Linked DNA regions of Homo sapiens: region 2 is linked to region 1. The links are contacts of gene promoters, found by promoter capture Hi-C in blood cells and fetal thymus (Javierre and others, 2016). All regions are on one chromosome and are shown on one strand. Each heading gives the region's core, a stretch centred on a gene start or on the middle of the fragment in contact. The rest is flanking DNA. Distances are from core to core; before and after follow the strand shown.

Evidence for each region. The method cuts DNA at HindIII sites, captures the fragments that hold promoters and counts their contacts. A CHiCAGO score of 5 or more calls a contact.
Region 2: a fragment that was not itself captured here is called in contact with the fragment with the promoter of UNC5CL in region 1 in 1 of 17 cell types (neutrophils); the score reaches 10.0 in neutrophils.

What each region holds. Positions count from the first base shown.
Region 1 is chr6:41,035,789-41,042,873 of GRCh38, reverse strand. It overlaps UNC5CL (unc-5 family C-terminal like), which reads left to right and starts at 3,653. Exons shown (of 9, transcript NM_173561.3): 1 at 3,653-3,712. TSPO2 (translocator protein 2) reads right to left here and starts at 407. Exons shown (of 4, transcript NM_001010873.3): 1 at 96-407. The HindIII fragment of the contact is 17,483 bases long and covers 1-7,085 here.
Region 2 is chr6:41,306,605-41,313,786 of GRCh38, reverse strand. It overlaps the pseudogene RPL32P15. Among named protein-coding and RNA genes, the nearest start is that of TREM1, 24 kb to the right of the region's middle. RefSeq lists an enhancer at 6,678-7,182. The HindIII fragment of the contact is 1,620 bases long and covers 784-2,403 here.

The DNA.
Region 1 (7,085 bases), core at 2,404-4,903:
CCCCTCAGAGAAGGTCTACTCACGGAGGTCCTTCCTCTCTCCCTGGCCCAGCTCCAGTCCTGTACCTCTGAGCTCTCTCCAACCCCAGGCCACACCTTGCCCATCTCCTGGCTTCCATGGACTTCTTTTCTCCACAGCACTCCTCTGGCACTTGGAGGACACTGCCCAGCACTGGTAACTGCTTCTAAGTGAATAGGCCTTCCTCCAAGTGCTTCTGAGTCCTGGAGATCAGGTCCCGGGTGATGAGCTTTTCTGCAGTGGGCAGCGCTTAGCCAGGTATGTAGCTGGCCCTCACCGAGAACTGTTCTACCTAAGCTGATCTACCAACCTGGAAAGTTCACAATCTGAAGGCAGGAGCCAGAAATTCCTGGGGACTCTTTTCTAGTCACGAATGCGGCAGCACATCTGTCCCAGGCTTATCTCACCATATCAGACTGGCACACTCATGGGGCCCACCCAGGCTGATCTCCTGCCCAAATTCAAACTTGGCCTGTTGACACCGTGGATTCCTTTTTCTGAACTTTTAGCTCTCTTCTACCCCTGGAGCCATGGGGTATGAGCTTCCTGCTCCATCTTTCCATTCCCAGAGTGTCAGGATGTAAGCACAAGCATCCAGGTTTCTTGTGGCCTGACTTTTCAAGGAAACAACTGCCTGGTCTTTGATTAAAAAGCTGCCAAGGTGGCATGTTGCTTTGCATGTCATTTGCATGTGGGACAATGTACAGACCCTCCTCCAGCCAAGGCCCCACCAAGGCCCCACAAATATCATTCTTCTCATTTGTTCATGATATTTCAGCCTCCCCCCATGATTAACCAGATTTGAAGGAGAGAAAACAATCTGATTATTTTCAGTATTCTGGACTGACTATCTAATCCATCCTTTTTTTTTTTTTCTTTTCATACAGAGTTTCACTCTTGTTGTCCAGGCTGGAGTGCAGTGGTGCAATCTCGGCTCACTGCAACCTCTGCCTCCCTAGTTCAAGTGATTCTCCTGTCTCAGCCTCCCTAGTAGCTGGGATTACAGGCGTGCGCCACCATGCCCGGCTAATTTTGTATTTTTAGTAGAGATGGGGTTTTGCCATGTTGGTCAGGCTGGTCTCGAACTCCTGACCTCAGGTGATCCACCCGCCTTGGCCTCCCAAAGTGCTGGGATTACAGGCATGAGCCACTGTGCCTGGCCCTAATCCATCCTTTTCTGTCAAGGGTCAGGGACACTGGTCCTGGAGGTTCTGGGACAGAGCTGAGCAGCATGCCCACCTGTGCATATTTCTACTTGTCTTTCTGTGCTCCTGACTGTCCGTTTGCTCATCTTCTGCCTTCCTGTTTTTCTACATTTCTGTCCAGTGGTGGAGGCCCCCTCCCTGCCCCTCCCTGCCCCCATCCTCTTTTCTCCTGACACCTGCCTCTCCCAGTGCCTCCTGGTTCCTAGGCCTGTGCTCCCCTTACCTCTGGCAGCACACCTCCCAGGCGGGGGGCCTGATGACATATGATGTGTGGAAGGCAGAGGAGGGTGGGGCTGGGAGGAGGGTGGGGCTGGGAGGAGGGTGGAGTGGTGCTCCCTGCTGATCTGCCTTTCTCAGATGAGAAGGGTGGTGACACTGGCTGGGAAGTCCAAGTTGCTGTTTCATGGCCCCAAAGAGTTCCTCTCAGGAGGAGCCCCTCTGGTCTGCCAGACCCTCCTTGGTGCCTGGCCTCTGGAGGCTACCCCTTGATGGAATGTTTGAGGGCTTGTGGTGAGGGTTTGACACTGGCCCTCCTGTGACAGCTCAGCCCCCAGTTATAATGCTGTTGATGCCTGTGGTCTTTGCATCCCATGAACCAGCTCTGTGGCCATGGGAGTGAGTGGTAGGAGCCTTCACATTTCTTCAGAGCCTCCTTATAATTGGGATTGTCCCCAAGAGTGGCAAGAACTAGCTTGGGAAGTGAGTTCATAATCCATGAACACAGCCCCTGGTTATAGCCTCCTGGTTGGCATGACCTTCCTGGCTTAGAACCCTAGCTTGACAGATCTTTCACAAACCCCTAGGACTTTATGACTCAGAGGAGAAGGCAGCTGACAAGTGGAGGTGGGTGGGGAGTCAAGGAGGAGTGACCTGGCGCTTCCTGGCAGAAAGTCCTGCCTCCCAGCCGCCCTAAAGAGGGGTAGGGGAGAGTGTCCCTGTCTGTTGGCAAAGTCCAGCCTCCTGTGTGACTCAGACAGAGCTTTGTTCAACAAAGACAAACACCCCTACCCCACTCCTTTCATTCCCTATCAAAGTTCTGAGCACCCCTTCCTGGCTTGTCTTTAGGCATGAGGTCTGCTTCCCAGGTTGCCCGCTCTCTACCATCTCTGCACTTTGGGGTACTGGGCTCCCCTGGGAGGTTTATTCCACCCTCTCACCTCCACCAGGGAAGGAAGCAGAGGGGAGGGCATTGCAGTCAGAGACAAGAGGCTAGAGAATTATTAACTGAGACAAAAGCAGAGGAAGTTACTTATTTTCTATGGGAGATGATAACTAGGGGCCTGGGGGGGCGTTCACCATGCCTCCTCAACTGCAGGAGGCCAGACCCTGGTGACAACGGTTACCATCTATTGACCACCCATTCTGTGGTGGGCATTTGACATTTATTAGCTCAATAATGACAATTATTATCTCACACAAGGTAGATATTCTTAACTGCATTTGACAGACAAGGGAATTGAGGTTCAGAGGAGTTAAGTAGCTTGCCCAATATTACATACCCAACGTGTGGCTCACCTGGGCTCAGTGTTGGCCAGTTGGAGCCAAAATGCATCCTTTTCCCTCTCAACTGCTTCACTCATTCATTCAAGACATGTTTATTGAACACCTTCTATCTATCAGGCTGTACCAGGAGCTGAGGAGACAGCCGAAAACATGGGAAAAGTTCCACAAGGAGTTTTCATTCTTGTGGTGCCACCGCTCCTAGGCAGAGTTTTAAGAACTCAGAATGGCAAATGGCCCCAAAGTTCAGTTGTCTCCCAACCGGCAGTGTCTCTGCCAACTTTGGGTGGGGGAAGTAGAAAGCACCTTGTGTAAGGAAAAATATGGGTACATCTCAGGTCCACCAGCAACTGGTGAGTCATTAACCGTCTCAGTGGCTCCACTGTCTTCTCTGTGTGGGGAGCGGGTGGAACTAGATGCTCTCTAAGCTCCTTGGACCGGTTGCATTGGCATCAGCTGGGAGCTTCTTTGAGCTGCAGAATCTCAGGCCCCATACTAGACCTACAGAATCAGAGCCTGCATTTTAACAAGATCTCCCAGGTGACTGTTGTGCACATTATAGTTTAAGAAACTCAGATGAAGGTTCCCTCCTCCTCCTATCTGCTATTTTAATAATAGCCTCTGGCTGGGGACAGCCACTCACCAGCAGAGGGCACTGTAAGGAGGGGTTTCAAGGTGCAGCACCTACACCCAGGTTGTCTCCCTGCCTCCCTCCTTCCTTCCAGACCTAGACTGGAAAGTTCACTGACTTCTGGGATCCTCAGCTAATCCCTTACCTGGGCTGGACTTTGCCAATAGACAGGGACACTCTCCCTCACCCCTCTTTAGACAGCTGGGAGGCAGGGCTCTGCCAGGAAATGCCAGGCCACTCCTGCCTGGATTCCCCGCCCACCTCCACTTGTCTGCTGGCCTGCCGACTGAATCTGGCTGACCCTTGTTTCTCGGAGAAGGAACTGGACCAGCCAGCAGCCTCTAAGAGCTCCTAGACGGTAAGTTGAGCACCCCCTTGGGGCAGCTGGAGAGGGGATGGGCATTGTGATGGGGTTACCTGGAGCTTCGGGGGAGGAGCCAGGCCAGCTTAGCCTGCCTGCTGGAGTGTAGGGACCCTCTGCTGGAGGAGGGGAGGAAAATGGGACTTGGCCAATGGGTATGAGGACCACTGGGATGATTCTGTGTCCTGCGGAAATGTCTACTATACTAACAAATGCCATTCATGACTTGGGTTTGGACCATCCATCCCAGTACTTGTTATGTTCTGCAGTAACTGGACATCTATCAGGTGTTGGGGAGGCACAGGGAGAACCAGTGAGGTGGAGGAAAGGTTGAGAGTTTTCTTAAAGGGTATGAGCAGAACTTTGCAGCAGGAGTTTGGATCTTTGTGCTGGAGGATGCAACTGCCTAGGGACAGGTGATGGCAGCATTCTAAAGGACTCTCGTTTCGGGGACCCGCTACCCAGGGTGATCTGGGGTCTGGAGCAAGACAGACTGGAGGAGTGGGTAATGAGGAGTCCAGGCATGGGGTTGGGATGCCCCAAGTCACACTCGAATGGCTGCAGTGCTATAGTTGCCATTCAGCAAGACTCCGGACCTTTCCCCATTCTGGAGCCAGAGGGAGGATGCAGTGAGGGCCAGGGCAGCCTGGAAGAGCAGTCACCCTGGGAGAGGCCCAGTGGGGCTTTGGGAGTGGTGCATGCCAACTTCTCCAGGGTCGGAGGTTGAGCCAGGGGACTCTACTGCACCACCCAGTGAGGTGCACCTCACTGGGGATCTGGACTCTGGTCTTTGGTGGCCCCAGGAAGGTTACTGCTGTGTAAGCGAGCTGGGGCCCCTCCTTTCATCCCTTTAGCAATTCCATCCCCTGCCACTGGTACCTTGGTAGGTGGGGGTGTGGTGTAGTGGGGTGGGTATTACCACATAACTGAGGATGTAAATTTAGGTCCTTCTATTTGTCTTTACTTCATTTTTGCTTCTTTCTCTTCCAACTTTATTTCTTCTAGAGAAGGAAAGGAAGATACTTGGGGAAAAGAAGGGGTGGAGAGAGAAAGGGGGTATCTCTGGAAGTCCTTGTTCGTCTTTGCTCCTCCTTCCTGCCTGTCTTCAGTTGTTTAGTAATTCCCTATCCATCTTCACTGTGGGGAGAAAGCTCGGATTCCTTATCTGTGAAATGGAGATAAAAATAACACCTCGCTCCTAAGGCTGCTGTGAGGATGAGATGAGACAAGCCATGGAGAGTGCTTTAACACAGTGGCATTGAGTAAAGCTCTGCGAATGTTAGCTATTGTTATTACAGTTGGAATTATAATTATTACTAATGTGAAAGAACCAAAAGAAATGATGGGACATCAACGGTAGCTTGCTGCTCCAACCCCCTTCCCATCAGCTTTGGGACACTGCCAATTCACTGATTCACCTGTGTGCCCTCCAGGATGCCTGGTTGAAAAAGGCTGGTGCATTGTCTGCTGGGTTGGCTCTTTAGGCAAAGAGAACAATGCCAACCCCCGCTTCTTATTCACACTTTCAGTGAGGACATGGGAGAAACAGGTACTGCCCCAGTCTTCAATCCTGAGGATACAGTGGAGGTTCTGCCCTGGTCTAAGAGGCACTAGGAAGGGGCTTCAGTTTTCATGGGTCCTGAGGTTGGAAGGAAGAAGGTGGGCCAAGCCTCAGTTCCAGGTGGGTAGTGCAAGTGAAGGGCGTGGGGAGGACTGGATACTGGAAGCTCTTCCAGTGCAGCCTCTAGTGAGTCAACCAGAGGGGCCTCCCAGGGCTCTGAAGGAGGACGTTGTGCCTCACAGAACTCAGCTACCAAGCCAATGAATTCCATTCCTGCAGAAGCTCCTTGAGAGCGGAATAAGACGTCATCTTTGGCAGGATTGAACTTCCCACAGTGTCCGATACACAGCCGGTGCTTAGAAAATGTTCATTTGAGTGGGAAAATCACACATGACAGCACATAATCAAGAGTGACTCAGTATGGTGGGATGGCTGTGGAGAGAGATTTCGCGAGCTGGAGGCTGTCAAAGGCCGGTGCACCAGCGGGAGGCACTATTGAATGGGAGGATCCACGTAGGGAGAGGAAACAAGTGGGGAGAGCAAGTGAGTGGAGAAACAGAAAACAGCATGAGCAAAAGCCAGAGGCTAGAATTAAGCAGGTGTGGGGAGCCTGGGCAGGCTACAGGGCAGGCGTGTTGGAAATTGTAGGGGCTGGAAGAGGGGAAGTAGGAGGAGGCGGAGGTGGGTTCTGGAGGGCCTCAGGAAGAGCTACTGGGAAGTCTCAGCCTGTGGCCTGGCTGGGTAGCCAGGTGAGCAGGAGGTGAGTGTATGCTTTTGCCCTGCCTCATTCCAGCTTCACTGTAGGGCTGCATCTTTGTGTTTTGTCTTCTTCATTTTTTTTTTTTTTTGCTTCCACTTTTAGCTTTTGTTGTTCTTGTTGTATGTTGCCTATCCCTGTGAGCTACCTTCAGGCCTTTCTGGCAGAAGGAGGGGCATAAAGAAACACATACATTTGGACAGTGCTTTCTCATCTACAAATACTTTTCACATGACCTTATGCCATCCTCACCATTACACAAAGAGGCACTTTTTCCCCACTTTTAATAGCTTCAGAAAAGAATTACAAAGTTAATACAAACTACATGCTTGATGTGAAAAATTCAAAGTACAGAGAAAAGGATTTAAAAAAATACAAAGTTTTTATTCACACCTTCCACCTTCTCAATTTGTTGTGACTCATGGGAATAGTTTGGGGGTGTGTCCTTCCAGACCTGCACAGTCTAAGACCGGATTCATTAGTACACGTGGCTACTGGGCACTTGAAATACAGCCAGTCCCAAGTGAGCTGTTCTGTTCATATAAATTACACATGGATTTCAAAGACTGGGTATGAAGGAAGAAAGTAAAAATATCTCATAATTTTATATCGATTACCTGTTGAAATAACATTTTGAATATATTGGGTTAAATAAAATGTATTAATTTCTCCTGTTCTTTTTAATGTGGCCATCAGGAAATTTAAAATTACATGTGTAGTTCACATTACATTTTTATTGTACACCACTGCTCCAGACCTTTCTCTATACCTTTACATTTCCATATATGCACCCATAAATATGTATCTATTTATATGCAGTTTTGTTTTTCACATTAATGAGCTCAGAATATTTTATCTCTCTGCGACTTGCTTTTTCCACTTATAGATTTTTTTGTATCAGCACTTGTAGATCAAGGTAGATATTTGGACAGATGAGGAAACTGAGGTACATTAAGCAGTATTGAGGCAGGAGGTGGGATTTGATTCCAGGCCAGATAGAAAACTGGCTGAAACAGGGAAAAGGCACCAAAAGCACCTCTCCATAAGACATG
Region 2 (7,182 bases), core at 344-2,843, 270 kb before region 1:
CACCATCCTCACCTATACCTATTGCCCACCCCTTCCCTACCACACACAGAAACCCAGCCTTCTTTGCAACCTCTCTAAGGCATTCATTCCCAGTTGTCTGCCAAGGTGGGTCAAGGTCGCTCATCTACAGAAAGTGGCAAGGGGATCTGGGTTCCTCATTGCTTCTTAAACAACTTTCTACCATTTCTTCTTAATCGGACTCCCCTAAACCACCTCCACTTTCTCAGCCATCTTGGCAATACTGTTGTGTAAATAAGACTTGACTTCTGCCTTCCTCAACTCTGATGAAAGGTTCTGTTTTCTCACTTCTAAGTCATTTCCCACTTACTTATATATTTTTTTCAGCTCCCCAAATTTTCTTGCTATTTTACCTTCTAGTTTCCCTCGTTCCTATGTTTCCTGCATTTCTTTATGTTCATTTTTGTGGGTTTTAGGAGCGAACAGAAATAAAGGTGTATGTTCCATCTGCCATCTTTCCCTGAGAATCTGAACGATGATCTTAGATTACAGAATCTATGATCATAAATAAAAATGGGCTGATAACCCATTATTCTTATTTGGTCCTTGTGTGGTTTTGGTATTAATATTGTTCTAGCCACAGAAATTATATGAGCAGCTTCTCCCCTCTTTTCTATTTCCTGGAATAAATTGTATGAATTAAGAAATATCTATACCTTGAAAATTCTTCTGTGCCTGAAGTTGCCCTCCCCTCACCTCTCTAGCAGCTGAGATGGTTATATGACTGGATGTTGATTTTTGAATTGTTGTTGCTCTAGTCAAGCTTTTAATCTCAACACCAATTTTAATATTTTATATCTTCCAGAAATGTATCCATTTTATTTAAGTTATTCAATTTATTAGTGTATGATTATTCATAGTATTGTTATTGTGAAAGTCTCTTTTGGGTGTTCAGGTATTTCTCATTTGTTCTCTTTTCTTTTCTTTTTTTCTTTTGAGACAGAGTCTCACTCTGTTGCCTAGGCTGGAGTGCAGTGGCGCAATCTTGGCTCACTGTAACCTCCCCTGTCTCTTGGGTTCAAGCAATTCTCCCACCTCAGCCTCCTGAGTAGCTGGGATTGCAGGCGTGCATCACCAGGCCTGGCTGATTTTTTGTGTTTTTAGTAGCGACAGGGTTTCACCATGTTGGCCAGGCTGGTCTCAAATTCCTGACCTCAAGTGATCCACCCACCTCGGCCTCCCAAAGTGCTGGGATTACAGGCGTGAGCCAATGTGCCTGGCCTGTTCTCTTTATTTTCTCTTTGCACTTTTAAACTTGTCTCTTGATTAGTCTTTCTACAGATTTGTATATCTTGTTCTTTTTTTTTTTTTCAAGGGCAGTATTTTATTTTGTTTCTTCTTCACTCCCTCTTCTCTCTTTCACACATATATTTCTCTATTTATTTGATTTCTGCCTATCTTAACTAAGATAATCTTAGCTCCTTTAACAGTATAGTTCCAAATCTCAGAGAGTAAAAGTTGATTTCTTACTCGTCTAATGGATGGTGACTCCGCAGGACCATTCAGGGGCCCAGGCTTTCTGTCCTGTGGCTCTGCTGACCTCCAGGTCTTCAGAGTTCTTTGCCTCCAGGAGTGGATGAGAAAAGAGAAAGTATGGCACATGGGTGTGTTTATAGGCCAGGTCTGGAACAGTGCCCATCACTTCTGCCCTCACTGCATGGGCTAAGATGGGTCTACCTGAGCATCTAGGAAGAGAAGAAAATAGGTATTTGTGAGCACCTTGTAGCTCTGCCTCTCTGCCTTCATTTCTGTCTTTTCTGCTGCTTGGCTGCAAAGCTGCACATGTGCTGGGCAGGACTCAGGGAGGCTGAGTAGGAGGAGCTACAGGCAGGTGCTGCCCATGTCAACAAGGTGAGTTGAGCAACAATGCACCTGAGAGACCCTAGCACCTACACTAACCTTCAGAACATCGCACCTGCCACTTCACCTCTGCCTTCCAAATCTCATGAAAGTTTCTCTTGCAAACCCAACACAGAGCCATAGAGGTAAGTGGATCCTCAGAAATGCAGTTCCAGCTTATCTGAGTTGCTGTAGCACAAACCCTGTGCACCTTCTCTCTCTCCACCACCCTTTCCCTCTGTAGCAGTTGTCCCCATGTGACGTATGGCTCACTTTTTTGTCTCCATCCTTCCATGAGAATGGAAGCTCTATGAGGACAGGGTCTTCGTTTACCTTGTATTCCCATATCCCCAGTCCTAGAACAGTGCTTGATGTATAGCAGTAGGTAATAAGTATTTCCTAAATTGGAATTAGTTGAGTATTTATTTAGTGTGTACCAGGCTCTGCTGTAAGTGCTTTGAAAGGGTTAGTTCATTTAATCTTCAAAACACCCAATGAGGGAGCCACTAAACACTTAGAACTGAGAAATGGAGACTTAGAGAAGCTTTGTAAATCACTCAACTCAGGCAGCTCATAAGAGGCCGAGTTGGATTATAAATGCAAGCAAGGGACTCCACAGCAATGGCACTGTGATTTAGGTGTCATGAAAACTACGGTAGAAGTGTAAATGAATCTATATATTTCTTTCCTCATTTTATTCATTTATTTTTAATACAGCCATGTCATACAGAAAATAATATATATTTTTTGAGACAGGGTCTTGCTTTGTTGCCCAGGCTGGAGTGCAGTGGCACAATCACAGTTCACTGCAGCCTTGACTTTCTGGGTTCAGCTGATCCTCCCACCTCAGCCTCCTGAGTAGCTGGGACTACAGGCATGTGTCACCTTGCTTGACTAATTTTTAATTTTTTTTTTTGTAAAGATGGAGTCTCCCTATGTTGCCCAGGCTGGCCTCAAATTCCTGAGCTCAAGTGATCCTCCTGCCTCGGCCTCCCAAAGTGCTGGGATACAGGTATGACTCACTGTACCTGGCCCAGAAAATAATTTTTTTAACCCCAAAAAAGGCTAGACCACTCAACAAGGGTTAATGAAGTCTGATAACTTGCATATGTTATACTAAAAGTTGGATAAGTACTTAGTGTAAGTAGAAAAATAAGTAAAAACTAGTTCAAAATGTATTTGTGGGCACTCCTTAAAATTATATCCAATAGAAAAAGATACCTAAGGGATTGAAAAAATCTTTAGAAGAGCTATACCCGTAGTATTTTGTATGAAACCATTCCACTTGGTAAATAGGTTTCCCAGAAACATTTCTCAATAGGCAAACTGATCCTGAAGGGAATGGGAAGTTGACTTTTGCTAAACTACTCTGCTCTGGTGAGCTCTCTAGAGGCTATGTGACTCCCAGGCCAGAATACTGGGGTCTGCTGCTTCCCCCCACCACTCCTGGGACTGGAGGTACCTGAGAAAAGGAGAGCCCAAGGGTCTTGGAAATTGGCTTGGAGAGCTCATATTCTATCCCGTGAGGGTGGCTTGACCTTATGGGACACTCACCAAGGTGGAGCTGAGCCTAGAGGATGGCTGTGACCTTCTCAAGGGTCCATCTTCCCAGTGACCAGAGAGCATGGCCTGCCAGAGGCACTGCCTGCAGGCCCTGGAGACCACTGACAGATCCTTTATTGGCTTCCCTGGTCCGTTGTTGTCAAGAACCCTGGAGGTTACCATCCTGCTGCCCTAGGACCACCAGCGTGTTCTTGGGGAGCTCACAAACATCCCTCTCTCGTTGAAAATGGATTTTTCCTTCTGTTTTACAGAGGACCCCACAAACTCAGCTCACTCACTGTGGACTTTAATCAATGTTATGTTTGGAGCATTGGGGGTAAGAATACTCAGACACACTCACATATACACATGCATGCTAACCCACATACACGCACACACATAGGTACACAAATGCACATGCATACCTGTGAGCTATACGTGAAGGCACATTCCTGCACACACACACATAAACTCAGCTTCATTTAGGAACATATAATACTGCTATGTCCTTTGGTTTTCTCATGTCATATTCTCTTCCATTTCCATTTCTACATGTAGGGTTAAATCACACAACAGAACAAACACGTGTGGCTGACTTTTGCATGTTTGAGGCTGCAAGGCTGGAATGGATAGAGCATTCTTCAAAATCTTGACAGTTTTTTACTCTTTTGTAGGTCCCATGCTATTTTCTTAGAAAAGCATAAGAAGTGATAAGGTTGAGTGGTGGGTGGGTCAGTCCGTGGAGAAAGAATGCCATGCTGAGATAGAAACTTATTTTGGAGTCAGTGAGGTGTTATGGTAACTTGATTAAAGTTAAATGCATGTAAAAAACAATAGGATTTCCAGCTCCCAGTCTGGCAAGTAAGGAGCTTGAAAATTGTCACTCCATCCTAACAAGTAAAAGTTGATCAAGCTGAAAAATCAATAACTCTAGAGCCCCCCAAGCCTGCCCCTTCCCATCAAGCCTGCAATTTTCCTCTGACTCTGTTCCTGCTTCCTGATCTTCCTCTTTCCTGCTCTGTCTCTGTTCCTTTCTTTCAGCCCAGGGGTCCATGAACAAGGACAATAAGAGGAAATCCGTCTTCCTATGACCAGTGATCAATACTCTGGTCACTCTCTCCTGTGTCCTCAGGGTGCCTGGTGACAGTCCAGAGATCTCTCTGAGAAGACCAATCACAACAATGGCTCAGAGTATTCCTAACCCTTAACTCAGAATGGACTTGGTGGTGGGGGCTCTGGAAAGCCCTGGGCAGTCAGTCCTCAGTCCCGGGAGCAGTAGAAGCTCCTGAAATCAAATGGTCTCTGAGCATGACTTGCTTGGGCAGCTGTGAAATATGGAGCAAAACAATTAGGAGCATATAGAGGGGAATTCTTAGTGCACACTTTGGAATGATAGAAGTAACTGATGGTGACTGAAGCAGTGTCTCCAAGCCTGGGAAGACTAGTAGACAACTGCTTTGATATTCTTTCAGATGTCCTACAGTCTAAAGGAAAAAGAGAGAAGAGGCCCTGGTCCCACTCCCACCACCACTGGATGTAAATTTAAGCCTTGGTCATTCTAGACTTGAGGCATGGCTTCCAGACACGTGGATTCTTCAGATGAATAGCATTTCATGAAACATGTCACATTGCTGACATAGGCCAAATTTTTATTTTACCAGAAAAAAATTACTTTCATCTTCTAGGACCACTGTTTTTCCTAAAAGAAAAGACGTATTTAAATTGTGAACATTGCCTTGGTGGTAGAAGAACCACATCTTGCCCCTCTCTCTTCCTCGGTGCTGCCTATGGAGGTGGCAGCCATCTCTTCCTCGGCATCACGGCTGCCCTCAGGCCCCTTGTGAAGCCCAAGATCATCAAAAAGCGAACCAAGAAGTTCATATGGCACCAGTCTGACCCATACGTCAAATTAAGCCTAACTGGCGGAAACCCGGAGGTACTGACAACAGGGTTCGTAGAAGGTTCAAGGGCCAGATCTTGATGCCCAACGTTGGTTATGGGGCAACAAAAAAACAAAGCACATGCTGCCAAGTGGCTTCTGGAATTTCCTGGTCCACAACGTCAAGGAGCTGGAAGTACTGCTGATGCGCAGCAAATCTTACTGTGCTGAGATCGCTCACAATGTTTCCTCCAAGGACCACAAAGCCATTGTGGAAAGAGCTGCTCAGCTGGCCATCAGAGTCACCAACCCCAATGCCAAGCTGTGCAGCGAAGACAATGAGTACACAGTTCATGTTTTGTGTTTAAATAAAACTGGAAAAGCTGGAAAAAAAAAAAAAAAGAACCACATCTTGAGCTGGAGGAAACCTGAGGCCCTGAGAACTTCATGGAGCATGGACCCCATTCGTTCTTAGACAACACACCTCTGGATTTTTACTTGAAGCAGTTTTAAGCCCTGTTATTTGGAGTTTTTCTGTTCTTTATAGATGAACCTAACCCTAATACAACTCTCACTATTCAGAGTTTTGTCAGGTACACAATTTTAGTTTAACAGTGATTTTTCCTAAGCATTTTGGTGATATGATTTCACCACCTTCTGGCTTGTGTTGTTTCAGTTGACAAGTCTGCTATTTAAATTTCTTCATAAATGATTGGCTGCTTCCTCTTTGCTTTGTATTCTACAATTTCTCTACAATATGCCACGATGAGGATTTTTGTTTTTTGCTTATATTGCTTGGTTTATGATGATCTGTATTTGTGGTTTAATGACTTTTCAAACCTCCGGAAAATTCTCAGCCACTACATCATCACATACGGCCTCTGAAGTTCAGTTTATGTACCAGATGTAGGAAGCTCAAATGAGTGCAGCTCCCATTCGCACAAGAAGACAAAGCCAGGTAAACTGCAAAGCCATAACTTTTCCTGACCCTATTAGAGAGCTGCAGTTGCAAGGCACCCAAATCATCTAGAATCCAAGGCCACTCCAAAGAGAGTTGGGATATGAGCACCAGCTCACCTGTCTCACAGAAAGGAGGAAGAGCTATGGAATACCAAACAAGTGTCAAGAACAATTCAGCTAAGACTTTAACAAATTGTTAAAGGTCAGGTGCAGGCCAGCATGACCGTATAGTACTTCTGGGATCCCAGGACACAAAAGGAATGATCACAGTCACTTTTAATCTCTTTCCCGGGGACCTCCACCAGGTGCTTATGAGAAAGACTGAAGGTGGATTGAGCAATGAGAGATGGTCCCTCAGTGGTGAAAACATGGAGAAAGAGAGTGGAAAAATAGACTCTTATCCTCTATTAAACAAAAGCATCAAACCACTAAGGTAGGGATAACAAGCCCTGTCACCCCCAGAGAGGAGGTGAAGACCCATTGAAGCTAAGGATGTGGTGAGGAGAAAACTTTCTTGCTGCTGGAAAGCAAATGTGATGACTGGAGCTCCAGCAGTCATTTTGGAAGTCATGAACTGAGACGGTGGGACAGACAGAAGGAGCCAAAGTCCCTGATGCTTCAATGCCAGCCCTGAGGAGCCTATCACTGAACTTTTAAGTGAGAGGTAACAAACTACTCTTTTGCTTAAACCACTTTTACTGCAGTTTTCTGTTATACCAGCCTGCTAATTCTAACGGAATCAGAACAAGTCCTATGACCCATTTACAGAGGAATCTCACATCCTTGGGGCTTCCCTAGATCATAAACCCTGTATGTCCACCAAGATTCGGGTAGGCAGGAAGGCAACCTTGGGTTTCTGTGGGAAGAGCTCTTTGCAAACTCCAGCTGCTATTTAAGAAAGAAAAAAAGGAAATTATTTTAGGCACAAATTATTTTAGTGTGGA